Regions from separate parts of the Homo sapiens genome. Here regions 1, 2, 4, 5, 6 and 7 are each linked to region 3. Evidence: promoter capture Hi-C in 16 types of primary human blood cells and fetal thymus (Javierre and others, 2016). All regions are on one chromosome and are shown on one strand. Each heading gives the region's core, a stretch centred on a gene start or on the middle of the fragment in contact. The rest is flanking DNA. Distances are from core to core; before and after follow the strand shown.

Region 1 (3,591 bases), core at 1,092-3,591, 670 kb before region 3:
AACAAGCTATGCTTAGAGGGAACTGTGTTAACTTTAAATGTTCATATGAGAAAAGAAGACTTGAAATCTTTGATACAAAGTTTCACCTTAAGAAGCTATAAAAAGAAGAGCAAAGTAAATCCAAGTAAGCAGAAAGAAATACTAAAGAGTAGAAATCAATGAAAATGAAAATAATCAGCAACAGAGAAAATTAACAAGACCAAAAGTGGTTCTTTGAAAAGATGGGGGAAAAAAGCTGAATAAATTCTAGATAGACTGATGAAGAAAATGAAGCACAAATTAACAACAGCAGGGATCAGCGCTTACAGGCATTAAAAGGATAAAAAGTAAACATTGTAACCAACATTATGACAAAAATAGAACATTAGAACATCTTCAATGAAATAGACAAAACCCCAGGAAAAAAAAAAAAAGCCCAAACAAACCAAAACTGGCACCGGGTGGAAAAAAAAAAAAAAATCTTATTATTAGCCTTATATCTGTAAAGGAAATTCAATTCATTATCAAAACCTTCCTAAAACTCCAGACTCAGATGGTTTCATTGGTGAATTCTTTTAAAAAAAAGTATTTAAAAAATTATTTTCAAAAACCGAAATAATACCAATCACATACAAACTCTCATAAAATAGAAAGAAAGGAAACACTCCCAGAAAATAGAAAAGGGAACATATTATGAGGCTGCCATACCCTTAATACCAAAACCTGATAAAGATATCATAAAACAAGAAAACTGTAGACTAATATCCTTCATAAATAAGAACACAAAAATCCTTCACAAAATATTAGCAAATCAAATTCAGTACTATAGAAAAAGGATAATACAGTTAACTCTTGAATATGGGTTTGAACTACATGAGTTCACTTATATATGCACATTTTTTTCAACAAATGTATTGGGGTTGGGTGTGGTGGCTCATGCCTATAATTCCAGCATTTTGGGAGGCCAAGGGAGGGGGATTGCTTGAGTCCAGAAGTTCTGTACCAGCCTGGGCAACATGATGAAATTCCATTTCCACCAATAAATAAACAAACAAACAAACACATAAAAATAGCCGGGCATGGTGGCATGTGCCTGTAGTCCCAACTACTTAGGAGGCTGAGGCGGGAGGATCACTTAAGCCCAGGAGGTTGAGGCTGCAGTGAGCTGTCATCACACCACTACACCCCAGCCTGGGTGATGGAGTGACTCTGTCTCAAAACAAAAAAATAAGTAAAATTTTAAAAAAAGAAAAAAAAAAGGCCAGGCGCAGTGGCTCACGCCTGTAATGTCAGCACTTTGGGAGGCCAAGACGGGTAGATCACCAATGGTTAGGAGGTATGGTTAGGAGTTTCAGACCAGCCTGGCCAACATGGCAAAACCCTGTCTCTACTAAAAGTAACAAAAATTAGCCGGGGGTGTTGGTGGACACCTGTAGTCCCAACTACCTGGGAGGCTGAGGCAGGAGAATCACTTGAACCTGGGAAATGGAGGCTGCAGTGAGCTGAGATCACACCACTGCACTCCAGCATGGGCAACAGTGAAACTCCATCTCAAAAAATAAATAAATAGAAAAATTTTTAGGAGGATTGCTACAACTAGACATTTGTTATTACTCATAGAAGAATCACATAGCCTAGAAATATAAAAAAAAAATTAAGAGAAAGTTTATTTTAAAAATTAAGAAAAAATTAAGAAATATCAAAAAAACTAAGAGAAAAATTCCTCTACAAGATTGAGGATGATCTGATAGAGGAAATTCCTTAAAAACCTAAAACTAGTATCACAGCCAATGGTAAATTATGGAACACTTTCCTCTTAGATTAGAAACAATGCAAGAAAGTCCAGTCTCACCACTTCTATTAAACAGTGTACTGGAGGCATAAAAATTAGAAAGAAGTAAAATTTGTCTTTATTTTCAGATGACATGATTGCTTACATAGAAAATCCTAGAGAATCTACAAAAAGAGACTAAAACCAATAAAATTAATTTGTTTATCAAGGTCACAGAATATAAGCTTAATAAAATTCAGTTGTATACTTACATATTAGCATACATTGGAAAATGAAATAAAAATAATTCCATCTATAATAGTATCAAAAATATTAACTACTTCAGAATAAATGTTATAATGTGCATAATTTCTCCAATGAAAACTACAAAACACTGCTGAAAGAAATTAAAGATCTAAATAAATGGAGAGATATACTATATTCGTAGATTTAAAAGTACAGTAGTGTTGTCAATTCTTAAACTGATCAATAGACTCCACACAATACCAATTCAAAATCTCATCTGTCTTTTTTTAAAAAGTAGAATTTGAGAAGCTGATTGTATAATTTATGTGGAAAGGACCTGGAATAGTCAAAGCAATCTTGAAAAGAAGAACAAAGTTGGAGGACTTATACTATTAATACTTGACTTCAAGACTAACAACAAACTACAATAATGAAGACCGTGATACTGGCATAGGGACTGACAGATAGATCAATATAACAGAACAGAAAATTCAGAAATAGATGTATTAGTCTTTGATTTGCAACAAAGGTACCAAAAGAATCCAATGAGGAAAGTAAAGTCTCCTTACGAAATGGTGCTGAAACAACGAAATATCCGTACAGGAAAAAACAAAACAACTTGACCTTCACCTTACAACACACACAAAAATTCATTTGAGATTCAGAGACTTCAAATGAAAACTAAAACCATAAAGCTTGTGGAAGAAAGCATAAGAGAATATCTTCATAAACTGGGGCTAAGCAAAGGTTTCACAGACAGGACACAGAAAAAAAAAACAATAAAAAATGATAAATAATTAAGCTCATCAAAATTTAAAAGTGTGTGCTAATGAAAAGATATCATAATGAAAATGAATAGGCAAGCCACAAAGCCACAGCATGGGAGAAAATATTCACCAAACATATATGATAATAGATTGGCATTCAGAATATATAAAGAATTCCTACTTGATAATAAAAAGACAACTCAAATTTAAGAATGGGGAAATGATGTGAACAGACACTTCACCAACAGAAGGTGTACATATGGCTAAGAATCTCAAGAAAAAAAGTTCAACATAATTTGTCATCAGGGAAATGCAAATTTAAACCACAATGAAATACCACTACATACCCATTAGAATGGCTAAAATGTTTTAAAACTGACACCACCAAATCTTGGAGAAGATGTGGAACAAATGGAACTCTCATATATTTTAGGTGGGAGTATAAAATAGTACAACCACAGCCAGGTGCGGTGGCTCATGCCTGTAATCCCAGCACTTTGGGAGGCCGAGGTGGGCGGATCACGAGGTCAGGAGTTTGAGACCAGCCTGGCCAACATGGTGAAACCCTGTCTCTACTAAAAATACAAAAATTAGCCGGGTGTGGTGGCGGGTACCTGTAATCCCAGCTACTTGGGAGGCTGAGGCAGGAGAATTGCCTGAACCCGGGAGGTCGAGGTTGCAGTGAGCCGAGATCGCACCACTGTTCTCCAGCATGGGCGACAGACCAAGACTCCGTCTTGGAAAAAAAAAATAGTACAACCACTTTGGGAAAAGACCTGGCAGTTCCTTATAAAGCTAAATACATAGGTACTCTATGACCCAGCAAAG
Region 2 (3,550 bases), core at 945-3,444, 650 kb after region 3:
TGAGCGTGCCCCCCCCCCAACCCCCATTCCCTGCAGAGCCATGGGGAATGTTTTTGTCATCACAAAAAATAGAAGTATGTGCAATATAGAGATACCTTTTAATTAACACAAAAAACCACGAAGCTATTCCATACTGCAGGACCAGGGAATGAACAGGAGAGCTTCCAATTTGTCTGGTTGGGAGAATAGACAAAATGCCTTCTGAGTGGCTCTGTCAGCCACAGCTCTCCCTTGAAAGATAACCAAAATATTCTCCACCCTTCACACATTCTCTCACCTGCCCTCTTGTTTGCTACCATGTTTTGATTGTGTTCATTCTTTTCTTCCCACTATCATGTCAAGGCCTTTCCTGGCTCTCCCTCTCCATGTTATAAAGTGGAGAGGGGGTTTGGGGGCTTGGCACAGGAAGGGAAGAGAGGAGACTCCAGGCTGGGGACACAAAGAGGGAAATTTTCCTTTTCAGGGGAAGCAGGAGCCAGGACAAGGAGGCACCCAAAGAGACAGACCAAGTAGCAGGGCAGCTAGCAACATTGGGCTAATTAATCCTAATTGCATCCTAAAGCATTGTATTGATTAACAGTGATTACTCAAGAGCTCTCAATACAAGAGAGCTTCAGAAGCCCAACCCTCCGGAAGAGACAGTTTCTTTACTGGCCTGGCTTACCACCTGCTCTTTGGCAAACCCAGCCTGGTTAGAATCTCTGAATCATTTACTTGGAACAAAACCTGGAGCATTGATTCCATCACCACAGTATCACAACCAGCTTCTGCCACCTTCCTTAGACCTTTGCAATAACCTATAAGATAATTGCTTCTGTTAGGAGCAATTCTTCTTCTACCGAAACATTGTAATTAAGCAGAATGGAAATATAGTAATTAACACAGTGTTATCTCAAGCAAACAAGCTAAAGAGCGGTGAATATAGGGGGTGACGGAGTTTTTAGGATTCACTCTTGACCTAGAAATTCCAAACTTATCTTGAACTAAGGTTGAAAGAGTTTAAGAAATAGATCCAAATTCTCATGCTCAAGAGCAGGAAAGGGTGGAAAAGCTAGGAGCACAACACTGTCTTCTTCCTCCCACCTGAGGGCATTTTCTGGGAGATAAAGCTAAAAAATGAGTGCAGGCTCTCCCAAGAGGCCATCTCTCTCTCTCTCTCTCTCTCTCTCTCTCTCTCTCTCTCTCTCTCTCTCTCTCTCCCCTCTATGTGTGTGTGTGTGTGTACACATGCTTGTGCATAGCCCAGGCACAAACACAAACCTTGTCTTGCAGCAAAAGGCAAACAGCCAGTCATATACTAATAGGAGACAGAGAATTGAAAATAAAAAGACAGCACGTATAATGTCCAAATTGTTTTCTGCTCCCAGAATTGCCTGCTCATTGTGCCTGGGGATGGCAAAGAAAAAAGAAAATTCCCACCCCAGAAGTCATTGTCAATTTGTGAACCAAAACCTTGCTCAGGTCAGAGGAACTGAAGTGTCACTGAATGACTGCTTTGCCATTGTCCTGAACTAATGTGAAAGAAGAGATCTTCCTTCCTTCCTTCCTTCCTTCCCATTTAAGTGTCACTCACTAAGCTAGGCAGAGAGGTCATAGGAAGAGCTTCACAGGCAGGCAGGGGAGGCAGACGTAATCATAGCAAATGCAAGGACTGCCACAGGATGGGAGCTCTGCGGGCACATGGAGAGCCAGTTACCATCCTACCAAACAGGACAAAGAAGTCTTCATTGGAAATGGCCATTCTAGCTGAGAATGGAAGATAAGGCAGGAATTTGCCAGACAGAGAAGCAGGAGGAGGCAGAGTATTCCAGGCAGAGGAAGTAGCATGTATAAAAGCACAAGGCGATATAATTAGATTTCTGTTTGAAGAATTACTTGCCCCTGGTTAACAGATTCAGAGAGAGCTGAAGCAGTAAATGTGAGCAGGTGTTTCATGTGGTGGAAAGAGCACCGCACCAGCAGTTAGGGCTCCCCAGTCCTAGGATGAGCTGGGCCACTGATGAGCTGAGTGTCCTTGGACAAGCCTCTTAATCTCTCCAACCTTAGCTCCTCCTGGATAAAATGAAAGGGGTTGATCCACTGGTTTGTAAGCTTCTCCTTGCACATGTATTCTATGATTCTGTCTCTACCTGAAGATACTTCTTTAAATCCTGCTCTACATTATGCTCTTTACCGTATTTGCACACTTGTTCCTTTCCTTGTGTATAGCACTTTACAGTTTACAAAACTATTTGCCATATACTATCCCCTTTGACCTTCACAGCCATGTGAGGGAGACAGCTACACTGAAGACCTAGATAAGCTTGTCCAGTCACTGGCTGTAAACCTCTCTGTGCGGATGATGCCCAAGTTTGTATCTGCAGCTCCGGCCCTCTCGCTCTCTCTTAAAATCTGGATGTATAGAACCAACTGCCTGCCCCTCCTCTGCATGACCATCTAAGAGACATCTCTATCTTAACATACCCAACACTTAACTTCTGATTTGTTTTTCCAAGCCAGCTCCTCCCTCAGTCTTCCCCATCCTAGTAAGTAAAAACTCCATTCTTCCAGTTCCTCAAGGTCAAAAGCTTGAAGTCATTTCATACCCTCCATTCAGACCATCCATAAATCCTGTCGTCTCTATCTTTGAAATATTTTCAGAATCTTACCATTTCTCCCCACCTCTTCTACTTGTGCCCTAGTTCAAACCACTCTCTTCTCTCCCCTGGATGTTTGCTCTGCCATTTCTAACCTTTGTACCTACAGTCTGTTCTCCACACGGAAGCTGTCCTAATTCAGATCCTATCACTCCTCTGCTCAAAAACCTTCTATGGCTCCCCAGCTCTCTAGAGAAAAAGCCTTAGCAGCCCCACAAGGCCTGTCTGACATTATCTGCTAGCGCTCTCCCTATCCTCACTTCTCTCAGGCTTCCCCAGCCTCTCTGCTATTCCTCACACACCCAAGGCTCTCACCTCAAGGCCTTTGTACTTGATGCTCTCTCTGCCTGGAAAGCTCTTTTGCCAAATGTCCACATAGGTCATTTCCTCACTTCCTTTAATCTCTGCTCAAATATCAATTCATCAGAGATGTATTACCATCTTTTCAAAAATGACAAATACTTGTCATTATCACCATCTGACATTGTACATATTTATTGTCTGTCTCCCCTGACCAGAATATAAATTCCACAGGAGCAGAGGCCTTGCCTGCTTTGTTCATCACTATAGCCCCAGCTTACAGAACAGGGCTTGGTTTTTGTTTGTTTGGTGGTTTCTTTTAAAGGTACAAAATAATGATTTAATAAATGAATGATTATTATCCTCATTTTACAGATAGGAATCAGGGATGCAATTGGTAATTTTCAGAGCTAGGCTTGAACTGAGATTTTTCCATATAAATTTTTTTCTCCAATTGCTTATTAGTTAATATTTATATTAGCACTTAAAAACTCTTTAATAGAAAATGTATATTATAGTAAAACATGCTAATTGTTTTTCAACCCAGTTAACCACCTGCAGCATTCCAAATCACAACAGAGGGGAGAATTAGCTCTGAAACCCACAAAAAGTGT
Region 3 (3,317 bases), core at 635-3,134:
AAAATTTCTTTTAAAAAATTACCCGGGCGTGGTGACACGTGCCTGTAGTCCTAGCTACAGGGAGGCTGAGGCAGTATTCAAGAATACCACTACCTTCAAACCGTTCAAAGTACAAAGCTTACTACAGATAGGTCAATTTTTCAGTATCTTGGGTTAGTTAATAATGCAATACATATTTAAGATCATGATTTTGGAATTCAACTTTGTAACTAAACAGAAGCACATTTATGACTGAATTGGAACAGATAACTTTAATGGCAACTTGGTCAAAACCAGATCCCTATTCTTGCATTCAGGTGTTAATAATTAGCCCTAGGTCTCTGATATTTGAACATAAAAAGGCAAAACCTCTAAATATTACATCTTCTCTAATGGGCAATGACACTAGAGCAGGTACTATAATTAATCCTCCCTCCAAGCTTCCATACGTCCTGTCCCACAAAAATAGTAAATTGCACCAAGTATGTTTTATCAACTAAATAGCTCTTCTGCACCTTCTTCTCTCCCACAAAAACTCTACTTACAAAAGTAGGAGAGGAATGGCAGAAGCTGGAAACTGAGTTCAGGGAACTGCTACAAGATTGTTACAATCCTTATCCACGCATCCCGAGCTTTACCACAGCAGATTACCCAGAGCTTCCCAGACAAGGCCGGAGAGCCGCGGAGAGAACTATGACCCCCCTCCTCCCTCCTCCTACAGAGCAGCCTCGCTCCCTAAGGCCAAACCCGCGCCCCCCATGACCTCCAATGGCTCGAGAAAAGAGCTTTGAATTGCCCGCTTTTTCCAAAGCTGGTTCATACTCCCTCGCAAAGCAGGGAATAGGGTCTGGGGACAAAAGGAGGCACATGCCTGCCACATGAGGAAAACCCCATCACCTGGAACTCGGCGAACTCCTCACAGTTCACACCGCCACTGGGCGCCGCCATATTGGACAAACACGAGGACCCCGCTGCAGGCCAATCACCGCGGAGCAAAGGTGACCGCGGAGTCGCCTGACAAAAAATATAGTACGAGGGGAATCCTTAGGAAAGCTGAGTGCAAGGCTTGAGTTCAACGTGGTCCGCATCCACCTCGGAACCTGTCACCCTGCTGTCCCAACCCTTTTAACATGTCCTCCTGGAACTGGGCCAGATACATGGATCAAAGATTGTCAGACCTTGAAGGGACTGTTTACTCCAATCCCATCTTTTCACAAAAGGGAAACAATTTCCTTGTGGTTCCCCTACCAGGTCGTTGAAGGAAATCTAGGCAAGTGAGGCCTTTCTAATACCTCTCACTCCAGTGCCTAACCTCCTCCCCGGACCCTGGAGCAGGGGGGTCTTTGTTAAGAATTTGGGACCACTAAGAAACGTCAAGAAAAAACGGCATTTCTGGCAGTGTGGGTGGGTATGAGTAAAGTGTTTAGGATGGAGATGATCAAATGTTTTTAGAAAATAGGTAAATAGAAAACAAATTGAAAACATACATGTTAATTTCTCAGATTAGCCTGAGGGATGCTCCAACAAGAGATAGGGCCACTGAGCAGAGTCCAATTATGTGTTTTCTGATAAAAGCATATGTTCATTGAAAACACTGGAAGAGCGGCATACTGGAATACTGGTTTATCTGGTGTATTTCGGGAGTTTACAGATCACGAAAGTTGCACATTTCCTTTCTATTTCACACAGGTACTCCCATGGGTACATATCCGCTAGGGCAAGGGCCCACGGCGCCACACTCCACAGGACCATCTCCGAGGCTGGCTCAGGATGCGGCGCCAGGGGCACTAGGCTGGCGCCGCGGGTCTCCAGCGCGTGGCGCACGTCCTACACGCCCCGCACTGGCGCAGGCCTGTACACCGCGTCGCGCACGCCCCGCCCCCCGGCGCCGCCTGCGTCCTTCCCACTCCAACGCTGGGTGACATTGAGCTCACCAGCGCCACCGTCCCCGGCGAAGTTCTGCGCTGGTCGGCGGAGTAGCAAGTGGCCATGGGGAGCCTCAGCGGTCTGCGCCTGGCAGCAGGTGAGACGCCGGTCGGGATATGGGAGGTAGGGGAGCTGGCCCGGCCGCTGCGGGTGGGGGAATCCTGAAGCCTTCCTGGGCCCCGGAGTGGCTCCATTCCATGACGCACTTTCTCGGTTCCTCAGAATCCTACCTACTTAGTAGCCATGTGGGAGGGAACTAGGTGAGCAGCTGCTGATAGGCATTGGAGACTGCCCGTGAATTACCCTCATCTCCATCCACCCAGCTCCCACCAACTTAACTGCCCACGCGCCTACCCTTCTCCCCACCCCCGTCCTCAGCCTCCCCTGAGCTCAGTCTGTAAAGCACCTACTATCCCTAGACCTCCCCTTTACCCATGCATTCAGCTTTCCACCCTAACCTCCCCTATCTATTGCTCTCCTTGAGTCTTCCCTCTTCCCCCTGCTCCTTCCTCTCTGGAGTTTATCCCAGAAAACCTCCAGTCTGAAGTTTCCCCACTCATTAAATGTCTGATTAGGCCAAGGATTTAGGTCTTAGAGATTAATAATAATTGTTTTCTTAAAATGGAGGATACATTACTTTTAAACACTTATACAATTAATTGATTCGAATTTCTTGGAGGAAGTGTGTAATTGAAGGATCTGCAGTTTGTTTTGGTGGTAGACATTTGTGTGATGACTATTTTGGACTTAGGTAATGAAAGCTTAATTCTTTTTTTTTGGGAGAACCAGCAGAGCCTTGGCATAGTAGGGGTTGAGAAATCAGAGGGCTTGCATTTTGACTCTTTTCTGGGTACCAGAGATCTTTTGTTCAATGGCACACACTACATTATTAAAAAGTTGTTAATTAAATTTTTAAAGGAAAAATAGCCCCAAACTTGGCTATTCAAATAATATAAATATATATTGTAATGTAAATGAAGTAATGCAAAAAAAAAGAGTGAATGTTGCATAGTTTCACAAGTTTGATACATAACCTTCCCCACCTCAAGATTATCCTTTACACAGCTTATCTAGTGTTCCGGTAGAGAATGGACTGGAAAACATGTCTCAAACTAGAGAGTATTATTATATTTACTTCCTTTAAAAGCAAACACTTCTTCCACTAAAATCCTCAATACTATGATTTCATTGATTTTGTCAGTTTTGTTGAACTAATTCACCTAAAATATCTTCTGTACATCCTATTAACATTATGAAGCTTTTCAACAAGGCAAGTGAAAGGATCATTGCTCTGTAAAAAAGTTAAAATGGACTGCATGAAAAGAACTTTGACATCTTGGAACTACTTTGACATCTTTGAACTAATACTGAGTATATTGTAAGTAGTTCATCTTCTTGCTTTGAGAATATAT
Region 4 (3,740 bases), core at 580-3,079, 700 kb before region 3:
CGTGCACCTGTAGTCCCAGCTACTCGGGAGGCTGAGGCAGAAGAATCGCTTGAACCCGGGAGGTGGAGGGTGCAGTGAGCTGAGATGGCGCCACTGCACTCCAGCCTGGCAACAGAGCGAGACTCTGTTTCTAAATAAATAAATAAATAAATAAATAAATAAATAAATAAATAAAAAGTGCATACACTAACAGGGTTTACTGTGAAAGCAGGGAGAGTACAGAGAGCTAAACCCTGTTAGTGTAAAGAAAATCAATAGTTGATGCAACAAAGAGCCAAAAATGCAATATAAGCATGATATTTACATACACAGGAAATACTGAAAGAATAAGCTAAAAGGGTTGAAAGCAAATTGCCTCAGAAGAAATGGGGTTGAGGTAGTGCTACTCTTAGCTTTTCCCACCAAACATTGTAGAATTTAGTGACTAATTAAATATGGGTCATATAACTTTATTTTTAACCCAAACCCCAAAACATATTTTTGTTTTGATTTAAGGTAAAAACATATTCCTTTATGCAATCCACTCACTCCTCTAGTCTAGATACTAGACTAGAGGTATCCTAGAATGGACCATCAGAAAGCTGTGTGCCTGGGACTGCATTTTAGCTCCTTGGAGTGGTAGTTTTAGTGAACTGGACGTAATTCTTTTGCTCTGCACTTACATTAAGGGACAGCTAAATAAAAACCCTAAAAAACACATTATTATATTTACTGTAGAGAAGTAATGGATGTTTCACAACTGCACAGTGTTCTCTTTATGGGAACACAGAAGAAATTTCTTACAGGCCTCAATACTTAAAGACTATTCTTGTCTTGAGTAGGTGATTTTTCTTTCTCCTTTTCTCCTAGACTATAAATACTGCAGTTCATGCATGCGGTTTTCATTCCCTCTTTCTGATGGCTAATAGAAACCTCAGAGCAAACTATGGATCCCTCTTTCTAACACAGTACAGGATATGGTGACTTCCCCTTGGGACACTAACCTTACTCCTGGTTTGATCTTTTTCTAGCCTATCCTCTTTTTCTCCTCCTTCTCAGTCCCTTTTATTTTATCTTGAAAAATTGTTTATATCTTTATATGCTACCCCAAGTCATTTTCAGAATGAGGAGAGTATAGATAAATACAGGCACCCCTAGAGATATGTCATCTGCTTAGTCAGTTCTATGCTAAAGATGTACAAATAAGTATAAGACATGACACTTACCAGGAGTTTGCAATCTAATTGGGGAAATAAAAAATAGTGTACAGAAATTAAACATATACACACACACACACACACAATAAGGCAATATGGGACAAATGATAAGTAAAATACTAGGGAAGTACAAAGGCAAAAGACAATCAGGCAATCACGAAATGTAAGAAGAGGATCTGAGCTCTGGAATGACCTTTAAATAGTGGGAAATAGACACTCAAAAAAGGAAAGCAATTGGGAGAACATTTTGGCTGCTGAAGATAATATGGGTAAGTAGGAAGTACCAGGTGTGATTATTGCATACTGAGTAGATCAGTTTGGTGTGAATGAAGGGTATGAGTAGGGAGCAGTAAAAGGGAACGCTGGAAAGGTATGGATAAATTACAGGGTCTTGGCCAGGTGTGGTGGCTCACGCCTGTAATTCCAGCACTTTGGGAGCCGAGGCAGGTGGATCACTTGAGACCAGGAGTTTAAGACCAGCCTGGCCAATATGGTGAAACCCCATCTCTACTAAAAATACAAAAATTAGCTAGGCATGGTGTAGTCCCAGCTACTTGGGAGGCTGAGGCAGGAGAATTGCTTGAACCTGGGAGGCGGAGGTTGCAGTGAGCCAAGATTGCACCACTGCACTCCAGCCTGGGTGAGAGAGCAAGACTCCATCTCAAAAAACAAACAAACAAAAAAACAGGGTCTTAAATGCCAGACTAAAGGGGGTTTGAATACTAAGTCTATTCTAGAGATAGTACAACTTTTAAATATTTTTGAGTAGTGCAGTAATACAGTAGAGTTTCAGAAAGACTTATATGGTGATGGTCTGAAAATACTGGTGAGATGATAACCTGGAAGCAACATTATTAGAACAGTTTAAGGGTAAAGTGTTAGAGCTTATCTTAGGATGTTGAAGATGGAAAATAAAAATACTTGAGGCACACTGTGAATAAAGGAGTGATACATCTTGATGGTTAAAATAAAATCACAGTTATGAGCATTTGGGAACAGAATAATATGACTCTGAATTACAGAAACACGAAAATAAAAAAGTTGGCTTGGCTGTAACTATCCAGCAGACAAAAATGTGCAAAGTTTAGTGCCTAGTGTTTATAACAGATAAGAATAATAAAGCAATTCACTGAATTAAACATAGTTAGCTAATTCAGAATCTATCCTAACAGCTCCATGAAAAAAGATTTTGACTTAGAAGATAATCAATACCAGCATATCATAAATTACAGCTTTGAGGCACATACCATCCTGATGAATAGAACCTTTTGCATTTACGGTCTGAAAAGACAGACAAAAGGCCAAGCTCCCAGGGCAAAGTCAGCTAAACTCAAATTATTTAAAAAATATAAACAAGTATGTGTATGTTGGAAGTAAAAACCATAACTGAACAGAGAGGCTTTGTTCGGATTACAAAAGGGGAAAGACTGTCTATAAATATGGGATATTAAGTGAGATAGGAATGAATACAATTACCTACAATAAAAAGGAAAAACTCACTCTACAGTTAGGGGTAATAATCTTTTCACTAGAGCTCATCTTAAAAATTAGAATTTTCGCTCTCCCTCTCCCTCTCCCTCTCTCTCTCCCCATGGTCTCCCTCTCCCTCTCTTTCCACGGTCTCCCTCTGATGCCGAGCCAAAGCTGGACTGTACTGCTGCCATCTCGGCTCACTGCAACCTCCCTCCCTGATTCTTCTGCCTCAGCCTGCCGAGTGCCTGCGATTGCAGGCGCGCGCCGCCACGCCTGACTGGTTTTCGTATTTTTTGGATGGAGACGGGGTTTCGCTGTGTTGGCCGGGCTGGTCTCCAGCTCCTAACCGCGAGTGATCCGCCAACCTCGGCCTCCCGAGGTGCCGGGATTGCAGACGGAGTCTGGTTCACTCAGTGCTCAATGGTGCCCAGGCTGGAGTGCAGTGGTGTGATCTCGGCTTGCTACAACCTCCACCTCCCAGCCGCCTGCCTTGGCCTCCCAAAGTGCCGAGAGTGCAGCCTCTGCCCCGCCGCCACCCCGTCTGGGAAGTGAGGAGCGTCTCTGCCTGGCCGCCCATCGTCTGGGACGTGAGGAGCCCCTCTGCCTGGCTGCCCAGTCTGGAAAGTGAGGAGCGTCTCTGCCCGGCCGCCATCCCATCTAGGAAGTGAGGAGCGTCTCTGCCCGGCTGCCCATCGTCTGAGATGTGGAGAGCGCCTCTGCTCCGCCGCCCCGTCTGGGATGTGAGGAGCGCCTCTGCCCGGCCGCGACCCCGTCTGGGAGGTGAGGAGCATCTCTGCCCAGCCGCCCCGTCTGAGAAGTGAGGAGACCCTCCGCCTGGCAACTGCCCCATCTGAGAAGTGAGGAGCCCCTTGGCCTGGCAACCACCCCGTCTGGGAAGTGAGGAGCGTCTCCGCCCGGCAGCCACCCCCTCCGGGAGGGAGGTGGGGGGGTCAGCCCCCCGCCCAGCCAGCCGCCCCGTCCGGGAGGGAGGTGGGGGGGTCAGCCCCCCGCCCGGCCAGCCGCCCCGTCCGGGAGGTGAGGGGCACCTCTGCCCGGCCGCCACCCCGTCTG
Region 5 (3,576 bases), core at 298-2,797, 820 kb after region 3:
CTAGATGTGGGTAAAATCTGTTGTGAAGCCTGAGGTCTTATACATACTGTGCAGTGCAAGCACCCATAATAGGAATGTCGAACACTGCTAGTGAGGTAGAAGGCATAGGCAAAATGGCGGAAATTCCATCCCCTTTATCACCCACTCTATCCCCCACCCTCAGCGAGCACTTTTAATAAAATAATATGTACCATATTGGTATTGTTTCCCAAACTTTGGTACTGTCACATATGCAAGATAATTTGATAAGCAAATGAACATTAAAAAATTCTCCCCAAATTTTCACACACATACATATTTGAATGAAACAAGTTCATTTAATTTAAATTAGGAGAAAAACTTAACATCTCAAAACTGATTTCACAGATATTATTGCTAAAAAATAAAGGACAAGAAAAGTAAGTCAATTCAAAGACCAATATTAGGTAAATAGTACAGGTGGATGAAGATAATTCTGAAAGTGGTACTTGGATGACTGAAGACTGGGAAGTTATGAACTAAAATAAATATGAGTGCTTTTGCCCCCAGTATAAAATGTTTTTATCTTAAAAGTGGCATTTGTGAAAGCATTTGGTTAGAACGTATATACAAAATCCACTTACATGTTGGGCTTTGTTTATTACCTTTTGAGAGATAACTTCCTGAGACATTGAGCCTGTAGTCATTACCCCTACAAGGTTCTGAAGAAGAGGGGTGTCTTATTATCTTGGGTCCAGGAACTTGCTAACCACTACTATAGTAGTTTGGCATTGTGGGAATTTATTTTCCTCAGCCTTTACATAAAAGTTTACCCAGATTTACCTAGATTCTAGCTTGTGCTTTTTCCTCCAACAGTTGCTGATGGGGAGAGGAAAAAATAGCCACTATTCAGGTTCCCTGTGAGTTAACTGCTGCTGTACAAAGGCAGGTGTAATATTTTCTCTGTATTAAAGGTGAGGAGAAATGGCCCAGTGCCCTAAACATTTATCTATGGCCCCGATAAGCTAAAAACTCCTAAATCTTCCCATGCAATTGTTGTAATCTCTTGCTTTCCACAGTTCCACTGGTTCTTCCTTGGGATTTTCCCAACCACAACCCTCCTTAAGACCTTAAAGATACTTTAACCTAGCTTAGGCCTGACATGGACAGATTTCCTTTTCTGCTAGCACAGTCCAGATAAGATTAGTTTAAAAAAAAACAAACTATATTATGAATCCGTGGTAAAAAGAAAAAAAGTAGGGGTATGTTTATTGAATTGATGGAGAGACAGCTTAGCCTAAGGTGGTTGGAATCTGTCTACAAATTAGTTAAGCCTGACGTTGATCATTGGACATTCATCCCCGTTTGTCAGGCTTAAATTCAAGTGCTTTGGATGCTGAATCAAATTACTGTGGTAGAAAGAGGTTTAATTTTTTCCCTAAGAAAAATCTTATCTATGGATAAGTAGAAACCATTCTCTGACAACCTTGTAATAATTTTGACAGGGAATGTAACTACTGTGTTCTGCTTTTGGTTAAAGGCTAAAGTACATATTAGGAAAATTTGAGGCTGGGCGCAGTGGCTCACACCTGTAATCCCAGCACTTTGTGAGGCCGACGCAGGTGGATCACTTGAGGTCAGAATTTGAGACCAGCCTGGCCAACACAGTTAAGCCCCATCTCTACTAAAAATACAAAAATTAGCCAGGCATGGTGGCGGGCACCTGTAATCCCAGCTACTTGGCAGGATGAGGCAGGGGAATCGCTTGAACCTGGGAGGCAGAGGTTGCAGTGAGCCATTGCACTCCAGCCTGGGCAACAGAGTGAGACCCTGTTTCAAAACAAAACAAAACAAAACAAAAAAACAACAAAAAAAGGAGTATTTGAAATGTAAGTTTGTCCAACTTTAGTTTTCCAGTTAGTGAAGTGGTGGGCAACACACCTGCATTGTTTGCTCTTTTCAACTGAGTTTCTCTAATTGAGGAGTGATGTTTCTTGATGGTAGGACTCTTCATTCCTGCTATCTGGCATAATTCATGGGACACATTAGATATTCAGTAAATGTTTGGTAAACGAATGGAACTTACAAATTGTATTCTTTTTACAGTATGTGTTTTAGAAAGCATGGATCATATATTTATTGATCTGTCCTCCAAGTCACTAAAGAATAACTTTGAAGACTACATGAAATTTGGCAACCTATTAATGAAGTCTATTCATAATATTTCTATTAGGATCCTAGAGAGGCCAGACATAAAATAATACAGTCTACTTTTATTTTACTTTTTGAGACAGGATCTCTCTCATCACCCAGGTTGGACTGCAGTGGCACAATCATAGCTCACCATTGCCTTGAACTCCTGGGCCTGCTTCAGCCTCCCCAAAGCAAGTACTATAGGCGTGTGCCACCATGCCCAGCTGATTTTTAATTTTTTTTATAGAGACAGAGCCTCACCATGTTTCTAGGTTGGTCTTGAACTCCTGGCCTCAAGCAGTGTTGGGATTATGGGTATAAGCCATGGCACCCCATCCAATCTGCTTTTAAATACTAAAATGTGGGTATTTAGAACTGCAAGTTACAACTCACCCTCAAATTAATTCCCAGAATGGTTATTGTGTTGCAGTGTACTTCTGGAAAGACAACAGTTTTATAGTTAAATAATAAACGCTTAAGGGGATAGAGTAAGACATTTTCCTACTTTCTTACACTTAGGCTAAATGTTACAATTGTGATTTAATAATTAAGTAAAACATGGTAAAAAAAAAATTAAAGAGGGGTTTATAGTATAGATATCTCTTCAGGGATCCCAACTTTTTCATGCTACTGCTTTTAGGAGAGAAAAAAACTAGATGAATGGAAAAAAACACCAATTGGGATATGTCACACTGGGACTTCAGTTTGAAGACTCCACTGTAGTAAAAAGACTAATTTGCTTCTGGATATTTTTCTCTTTAAATGAATGGAGAGGCTGGGCGTGGTAGCTCATGCCTGTAATCCTAGTACTTTGGGAGGCTGAGGTGGACAGATCACTTCAGGCCAGGAGTTTGAGACCAGCCTGGCCAACATGGCGAAACCTCATCTCTACTGAAAATACAAAAATGAGCTGGGTGTTGTGGCGCATGCCTGTAATCCTAGCTACTCGCGAGGCTGAGGCATGAGAATTGCTTGAATCTGGGAGGTGGAGGTTGCAGTGAACTGAGATCGCACCACTACACTCGTCTGGGTGACACAGTGAGACCCTGTCTCTGAAGGAGAAAAATATTAAAGGGTAATGACACAGTAACACCTAGAGATTTCTCCTTTTTCCTCATGAAAAGAGGAAAAAGGGATAGTGAACTTAATGCATTAGATTTATTAGTTGGGTTAATTTTTATTGTCAGATCAGTTATCACCATGAATGGGAAGTCATATTTTGACTTCACACAGCAGTGAAAACTATCAGCTCCTGATTTACAAGCTTTGTAACAACTGGTTTTCTGTGGTATTTTTTTTTATATATATTACTCATTTTTTCCTTTTTGGAATGAGATAATATTGACCTAGATTAAGTGGGCAGGTAAGGATTAATTTAGTCTCTAAGATACAATATTTTTGGAAAAATGCCTGTGAGATTTTTAT
Region 6 (3,419 bases), core at 751-3,250, 600 kb before region 3:
TTGGACTAGCTACATGTCAAGTTCTCCATAGCCAGCTACGTATGCTTAACGATTATTTTATTGAACAGTGCAGATCTCTAGTGTGTCTTAGAAAAGGATACTTTTAGGCTAGGCGCAGTGGCTCACATCTGTAATTCCAGCACTTTGGGAGGGTGAGGTGGGAGGATCACTTGAGCTCAGGAGTTGGAGACCACCCTGGAGAACACAGTGAGACTTAGTCTCTACTGAAAAAAAAAAAAAATTAGCTGGGCCTGGTGGTGCAAGCCTGTAGTCCCAGCTACTGTGGAGGCTGAGGTGGGAGGATCTCTTGAGCCTCGCAGATAAAGGCTCCAGTGGGGTATGATTGCACCACTGCACTCCAGCCTGGGAGACAGAGAGAGATTCTGTCTCAAAAGAAAAGAAAAGAAAAGAAAAGAAAAGAAAAGAAAAGAAAAGGATGCTTTAAAAATATGGCAAAATGTACCCTTTATTGACTATTGCCTTGTTTTAATTTTCTCTATTTTTCTATTTATTTTCTCAGTGTACTTTCCCATTTTTCTTTCTCTTTTCCTTCTTTGAAAGTAATTCTTGGCCAGGCATGGTGGTTCATGCCTATAATCTCAGCACTTAGGGAGGCTGAGGCAGGAGGATCACTTTAGCCCAGGAGTTCAAGGCTGTGATGAACTATGAACACACCACTGTACTCCAGCCTGGGTGACAGAGTGAGACCATGTCTCTTAAAAAAAAAAAAAAGTAATCCTCTTATTTCCTTTTCCATTTTGGCTAACTTTGCTTTGACTTCATCTTATTTTTATTAATGAGATGCAAAGACTATAAACATGACCTTGACCCATCCCTTTTTGCTCTTAAACAGAGACTCATTCCTTTTCTTAGCTAGAGGAGATATGAGGCAAATGTGACTAATCTTCCTTTCGTGCCAATGGAAAGTATAAAAGCCAAAACAACTTTGCCTTCGTAGCCTTCAGATATGTTCCTATGATGACCCCTACTTTTTTCTCTAAGAAATGGTAGGCAAACCAGGATATTTCACTTTACAGTACAGGATACTTTTACAAAGTATTGGGGTCATCTAAATCAGGCAAGGTAGTAAGTCAACCTAATAAGGACCCAGCTATTTCTATGACAGGGAAGACTTTAAAAAGGAGGTATTTATGAGGTAAAAGTATTAGAAAGAAGCCAAAGCTTCCTCCAAAGGAAGTGTCTCCAACCCTAATATCAACTGGTTAACCCCTTAGATGGCTTTGTTTAGCAGAAAGTAAAAATCAGGAGTACGTGTGATACAGTGATGGTGCAGGATTGTTTGTTGCAGACACAATCTGAGATCCCCAGAAGAGCCTGAAGAAGGAGTAGGAGACAGGCATCTCTTCCTGTTTCTCTAGTATTTATTCTACAATGTTTTTTGGATGATTAAAAAAAAAAAACTTTGTAAAAAGTTAATCACAGAGACTGTTCAAAATCTGTCACAGTAGAAAACTGAAATTGACCTAAAAATTCAGTAAGGATTGTTAAGCTAAATGCTATAGGACCTGAAATCCTAATATGAAAGTTAACCATGTATAAGAGAACAACGGGATGTTAGGAAAACTGGTCATTAAATTTAAAAAACCACCTCGTACTATGCTTTTCCAAGGCAACAAAATAGTACTATGCTCTAGAGAGATCACAGAAAGATTGCTATTTAAGAATAAGAGGCCGGGAGCGGTGGCTCACGCCTGTAATCCCAGCACTTTCGGAGGCCGAGGTGGGCAGATCACGAGGTCTAGAGATCGAGACCATCCTGGCCAATATGGTGAAACCCCGTCTCTATTAAAAATACAAACATTAGATGGGTGTGGTGGTGCATGCCTGTAGTCCCAGCTACTCGGGAGGCTGAGGCAGGAGAATTGCTTGAACCTGGGAGGCGGAGGTTGTAGTGAGCCAAGATCGTGCCATTGCACTTCAGCCTTGCAACAGAGCAAGAATCCGTCTCAAAAAAAAAAAAAAAATACAATTCTACAATTAAAATGTTATAATGATCTAAATATACCTAATATCTCATCTGTGCATTAAAAAAATCAAATATCACATGCTGCACTTGCACAGAACTTTGTAATTTACAAAATACATTCCCATAAATTAGGGTATCTGATCCACATAACAACTGAGTGAAAAGGGTAAGGGTAAACATCTATTCATACATCAAGCACATGTGATGAGCTGACAACAATAAGACTTAGCTCCTTATTCTTGAAGAACTCACAGCCCAAGTAAGAAGGGAAATAATTAACAAAACAACATTGCAGTATAGTAAATGATGTACAAGGTTCTAAGGCAGTACTAAGGACTGAGTGTCTAAATCAGCTCGGCCAGAGGTAAGGGGTTTTTCTTTTACAAAAGAAAAAACTAAGGCTCAAGAAAACTAAGTGTCTTGACCAAGGCTTTACAACAGGTAATTAGCAAAGTCAGTTTTGAACTCATGTTTTTGCCTCTTGATTCAGAGCTCTTTTCACTACATTAGACTCACTGCTCTTTGAAGTGTGACAGCTGCTTTATACTCTATGAGAGACTGCCTCTGTTGGTGAAAATTTTTCCTTTCCCTGTACCCTCTCCAATGTTTCTGGATAATCAGTGCTGATTTCTCTTCCATTTCCCGATAGTGTTTCTCCACCTGACCTAAAAAGATGATAGACACTATTACAACATACTCACTGCCATGCTTTCTTAAGTTCTGGAATCAGGACAATGATAATAATAATCTTGCATTCTTTTTATTTTTGTCAATATTGTTCACTAATTTTCCCAATTCTACTATTTTACCATGGTTCTAAGATTTTAGAAACAAAGCTTTCCCAGATTATGCAGCTTCTTCACAGAAAGAACTCATATAATATTTTTGTGGTAGAGTAATAAGAAAATGGCTGAAAATCCAATACAAAGAACACTAAAAAAAAAAAAAAAAATTCCTAAGTACATGATTAAGAAGTCATTCAGTACCACCAGAGGGAAAGGGCAAAATGTGTGTATGTGTTCTCTACTCTACATGCTTCCAAATTTCTCTTAAGTCACTCAGTCAGTTATACAGATGACTTTCTTTTTGCTTTCTTGGAGTTGCTCAGCATACAGCCCAGGGTTCACAGTATATATGTGACAGAATAAGGCAGTAGAATTGTTAATAAAAAGGGGGGCGTATTTGGGGAAGTATAAGAAACTGATATAATTTAATGATCAACTGGATACGGAGGTAAAAGAGGGAAAGGACTCTAGGATGTCTCAAATGGGAAACTGAGTAAGTTGTTGGTGCCATTACCTGAGATGGGGAATAAAGGAAAAGGAAATCTGAGGGGTAAGATAATGACTTTGGTGTTTGGGATGCCTGTGGATATCCAGGTAAAGCTGGATCCAATAGGCAGTTGGCTACAGAGGTGTGTTATTCAATAGAG
Region 7 (3,620 bases), core at 493-2,992, 680 kb after region 3:
ACTGCATGCAAGAATGCTTTAGCACAGCAGGGCCCAACCTTTTTGTCACCAGGGACCGGTTTTGTGGAAGACAAGTTTTCCACAGATGGTGGGGGGACAGGGGATGGTTTTGGGATGAAACTGTTCTATCTCGGATCATCAGGCATTAGATTCTCATAAGGCACCCACAACCTAGATTTCTTGAATGTGCAGTTCACAATAGAGTTCACACTCCTATGAGAATCTAATGCCACCACTGATCTGACAGGAGGCAGAGCTCAGGTGGTAATGCTCGCTGGCCCACAGCTTGCCTCCTGGTTCCTAACAGGCCACAGACTGTCCAGAGGCCCAGCGTTTGGGGACCCCTGCTTTAGCACAGGGAATGGGTTCAATAAAGAGTTTTTTTCTTTTGAAAATTTTTACTCAGGTAAAATTCACATAACATCAATTAACCATTTTAAAGTGTACAGTTTAGTGGCATTTAGTACCTTCACAATGTTGTGGAACCATCATCTCCATCTAGTTCCAAAATGTTTTATCACTCCCAAAGGAGTCCCTATACTCATTAAGCAGTCATTCCCCATTCCTTCCTCCCCACCCCCACTACTATGCTTTCTGTCTCTGTGGATTTACCTATTCTAAATATTTCATAAGATGTAATCACATCATATGTGACTTTTTGTGTCTGGCTTCTTTCATTAGCATACATTTCTGAGATTCATTCATTGTAGAATGTATTAGCATTTTATTCTCTCCCCCCCACCTTTTTTTTTTTTTTTTTTTTTGAGACAGGGTCTCACCCTGTGGCCTAGGCTGGGGTGCAGTGGCATGATCTTGGCTCACTGCAGTCTCCATATCCCAGGTTCAAGCAATCCTCCCGCCTTAGCCTCCCAAGTAGTTGGAACTACAGTCCCTTGCCACCACACCAGCTATTTTATTTTATTTTATTTTTATTTTTAGCAGAGATGAGGTCTTGCTATGTTGCCCAGGCTGGTTTCAAACTCCTAGTCTTACACGATTCTGCTGCCTCAGCTTTCCAAAGTGTTGGGATTACAGTCATGAGCTGCCCTGCTGGGCCACTTTATTCCTTTTAATGGCTAAATAACATTCCATTAGATGGATGTATCACACTTTGTTTACCCATTCATCCTTTGACAGACGTTAGAGTTGTTTCTACCTTTTGGTTATTGTAAATAGTGTTGCTGTGAACACTGGTGTACGTGCATTTGTCTGAATACCTGTTTTCAATTCTTTTGGGTATTAGCCTAAGGGTGGAATTGCTGGTCATATAGTAATCTATGTTTAACTTTTTGAGGAACCACCAGATTGTTTTCCAACAGCTCAATAATGTTTTACTGAAGTTAAATAGAATAAGCAGGAGGGAGTCTGGGAGGCAGGGATGAGGGCTTTTCCTGTCCTTCACAGGCAGCCCTGGACTCTGCCATTTACCGGCTGTGTGATCTGGATCAACGTACTTAAATTCCCTGCGCTGCCTCCTAATCCTCAAAGTGGAGAAAATAAAACCTAATTTCTGTGAGCTGCGTGAGATACTGTTTCTGAAGCTCCAGGCACAGAGTAAGCCCCCGCTCATTAATTGCCTTCCCTTACTCCCTGACCTTGCCTTTTCGCACTTCACTCGCTGCCACGTGGCCTCGGAGCCCAGTCCGCACCCGCAGCCCCCAGCTGAGCCAGGCTGCAGACTACAACTCCCAGCGAGCACTTCTTCCCGGCCGCCTCTCCCCAGCTGCTGCGCATGCTTTGGCAGACGTGGCACCGGGAACTCGGAGGCGGGGAGCGGCTGGGAAGTGGCCGTGGTGGTTGGCCGCGGTGGAGCTAGCAGGCGGGCGGGCGGGAGCGGGCGCCGGAGTGGAGAAAGGAGCCAGCGGTGGGCAGCGCTGCTGGGATGGCGCGGGCCGGGCCGGCGTGGCTGCTGCTGGCAATCTGGGTGAGACTGTGGGGCAGGGATCCGGGCCGGGCCAGCACGTGTGTCCCGCGTGCCCTTCTGCGCTCTCTGCTCCAGCCCTCTGCGGAACGTGCGGGGAGCTGCCCCGGGGCACCGGGATGAGGGCGTGCATGCCAGGCAGGCGGGCACTGGGTGCTACGCGGGAGACAGCGGGCGTCCCGGTGCCCTCGCCGCCAAGCGCTCCCGGACGCAGGGGCAGGAGGCAGCTGTGGGGCGCCGGGAGATCCCTGGCAGGGTGCTTACGCCACGGCCACAACTTTGCGGGGATGCAGGTCGGGGCACAGCCGGTCGGGCAGGACGCCGGCGGGCTGCGGGGTGAGCTCCGCTCCAGACTCCGAGCCCTGCACCTGTGTGAGTGCGGGGTGGGATGGGGGTGCTTACTACCTGCACTGCCGGAAACCTTGGTTTAGGGCCACCTTGTTCTTGGCTTCGGCCCCAGGCGTCTGGGAAACTGCGGGCCACCACCTGGGCCTCCGCCCACAGGCCAGGCTCGGTGGGCTGGGTGGGGTCGACGTAGCCCGCCCCGGCGGAGGAGCTGCTCCTACACCCAACTGAGGCGGGCTCGAGCCTCAGCCACTTTCTAGCTGTGTGACGCGGCGGTTCATTTAATGTATCTGAGCTAGTTTCCTCATGCATGATATAGAAAGGCAAAGCTACCCCCATAGGGTGGTTCTGAGAGTCGGATGAGGTCTCAGTGGAGGAAGCTGTGTAAACTGCAAAATCTTACAAAAGTGGAAAAGGAGTGGACTCCAAGAGTAGTTTGCTACACTTGGTGGGGGGGACTCCAGGCATCCCTGAGAGAGGTCGGAATGGGTGTGCCTGCCGGCCCAGGTCTGGGGTTTGGCCTTCGTTTCGCTGTGGGTGTGTGATGAGATATTGTGGCCTCCTTCCCCATCTTTTCCATAACTTATGCGCTCCCTTATTTTAGGACCATCCTGGTCCTTTTCCCCTGAAGTTCCAGGGAACTTCCTGTTCCTGGCACCCTCCCCCCAACCCAGATTTTCCCGTTCTTTTCCATTTGGGTGTGGCAAGGACACTGGGCAAATGGGAGGAGAAAAGTGTGGGTTGAGTTGCTTGAAACACTTCCATCTCCCAATACCCTGGCCTTTTGGATCACCAGTGAGGAGTGGCCTGGTACTCTCTGGTTGGAAGTGGGTGGGGAAAGAAGCCCCCTGTTCTCTTCGGTCTGTGTTCTCCCTCTTGGGGAGAACCAGGCTGGAGTGGGGCAGTGTCACTTAATTGCGTCTGGGTTTGTTGAATGCTGGTTTGCCATCAGTTCCCTGGAGCCAGTTGGTCTGGGCGGGTCTCTGGGCCAGGAGGAGGGAGCTATCTCCTGAAACGCCCCCCATCGGTCTTTGCACTTGGGCTGAGTAGGAGGTCCTGCTTTCCTCCCTTTCCCCTCCCTTTTGTGAAAACAAACGGCTTGAGAATCTGAAATTTCATTCGGCAGACATTTATTTGTCAATCACATTGTTTGGATTGATATTTTGCCCTCCACTGGGTTAGATTTTGGGCGGAGAGCAAAACACACATTGTACCTGCCGTCTGGTGTTGCCCTGGATTGGGCAAAGGAGTCAGTCCTGTGAGCAAATAATGACAGAACTGCAAGTGCTGTGACCTTAAGTACTAGTATCCTTCACTGAACCGGAGCCATACGTTGATTTAAAGGGAGGTCAGC

Evidence for each region. The method cuts DNA at HindIII sites, captures the fragments that hold promoters and counts their contacts. A CHiCAGO score of 5 or more calls a contact.
Region 1: a contact is called between a fragment that was not itself captured here and the fragment with the promoter of FAM162A in region 3, in 1 of 17 cell types (total CD8 T cells). The highest score is 5.1, in total CD8 T cells.
Region 2: a fragment that was not itself captured here is called in contact with the fragment with the promoter of FAM162A in region 3 in 2 of 17 cell types (total B cells and naive B cells); the score reaches 9.8 in total B cells.
Region 4: a contact is called between a fragment that was not itself captured here and the fragment with the promoter of FAM162A in region 3, in 1 of 17 cell types (neutrophils). The highest score is 5.9, in neutrophils.
Region 5: a contact is called between a fragment that was not itself captured here and the fragment with the promoter of FAM162A in region 3, in 8 of 17 cell types (naive CD4 T cells, fetal thymus, naive CD8 T cells and 5 more). The highest score is 11.1, in naive CD4 T cells.
Region 6: a contact is called between a fragment that was not itself captured here and the fragment with the promoter of FAM162A in region 3, in 1 of 17 cell types (naive B cells). The highest score is 5.6, in naive B cells.
Region 7: a contact is called between the fragment with the promoter of PDIA5 here and the fragment with the promoter of FAM162A in region 3, in 6 of 17 cell types (megakaryocytes, endothelial precursors, erythroblasts and 3 more). The highest score is 8.9, in megakaryocytes.

What each region holds. Positions count from the first base shown.
Region 1 is chr3:121,709,660-121,713,250 of GRCh38, forward strand. The region is part of intron 10 of GOLGB1 (golgin B1); the gene reads right to left. Among named protein-coding and RNA genes, the nearest start is that of GOLGB1, 38 kb to the right of the region's middle. The HindIII fragment of the contact is 696 bases long and covers 1,994-2,689 here.
Region 2 is chr3:123,029,480-123,033,029 of GRCh38, forward strand. No RefSeq gene overlaps it. Among named protein-coding and RNA genes, the nearest start is that of SEMA5B, 3.5 kb to the left of the region's middle. The HindIII fragment of the contact is 211 bases long and covers 2,090-2,300 here.
Region 3 is chr3:122,382,298-122,385,614 of GRCh38, forward strand. FAM162A (family with sequence similarity 162 member A) reads left to right here and starts at 1,885. Exons shown (of 5, transcript NM_014367.4): 1 at 1,885-2,002. The coding sequence starts at 1,969. It overlaps MIX23 (mitochondrial matrix import factor 23), which reads right to left and starts at 934. Exons shown (of 5, transcript NM_001017928.4): 1 at 877-934. The coding sequence starts at 927. RefSeq lists enhancers at 1,696-2,196, 2,020-2,069 and a silencer at 1,780-1,929. The HindIII fragment of the contact is 2,247 bases long and covers 418-2,664 here.
Region 4 is chr3:121,685,403-121,689,142 of GRCh38, forward strand. All of the region lies in intron 14 of GOLGB1 (golgin B1), which reads right to left. Among named protein-coding and RNA genes, the nearest start is that of HCLS1, 26 kb to the left of the region's middle. The HindIII fragment of the contact is 9,188 bases long and covers 1-3,740 here.
Region 5 is chr3:123,203,882-123,207,457 of GRCh38, forward strand. All of the region lies in intron 1 of SEC22A (SEC22 homolog A, vesicle trafficking protein), which reads left to right. Among named protein-coding and RNA genes, the nearest start is that of SEC22A, 3.7 kb to the left of the region's middle. The HindIII fragment of the contact is 3,731 bases long and covers 1-3,413 here.
Region 6 is chr3:121,785,781-121,789,199 of GRCh38, forward strand. IQCB1 (IQ motif containing B1) reads right to left here. Exons shown (of 15, transcript NM_001023570.4): 12 at 2,504-2,652. Among named protein-coding and RNA genes, the nearest start is that of GOLGB1, 38 kb to the left of the region's middle. The HindIII fragment of the contact is 1,641 bases long and covers 1,181-2,821 here.
Region 7 is chr3:123,065,283-123,068,902 of GRCh38, forward strand. PDIA5 (protein disulfide isomerase family A member 5) reads left to right here and starts at 1,743. Exons shown (of 17, transcript NM_006810.4): 1 at 1,743-1,924. The coding sequence starts at 1,883. RefSeq lists a silencer at 1,798-2,037. The HindIII fragment of the contact is 10,820 bases long and covers 1-3,620 here.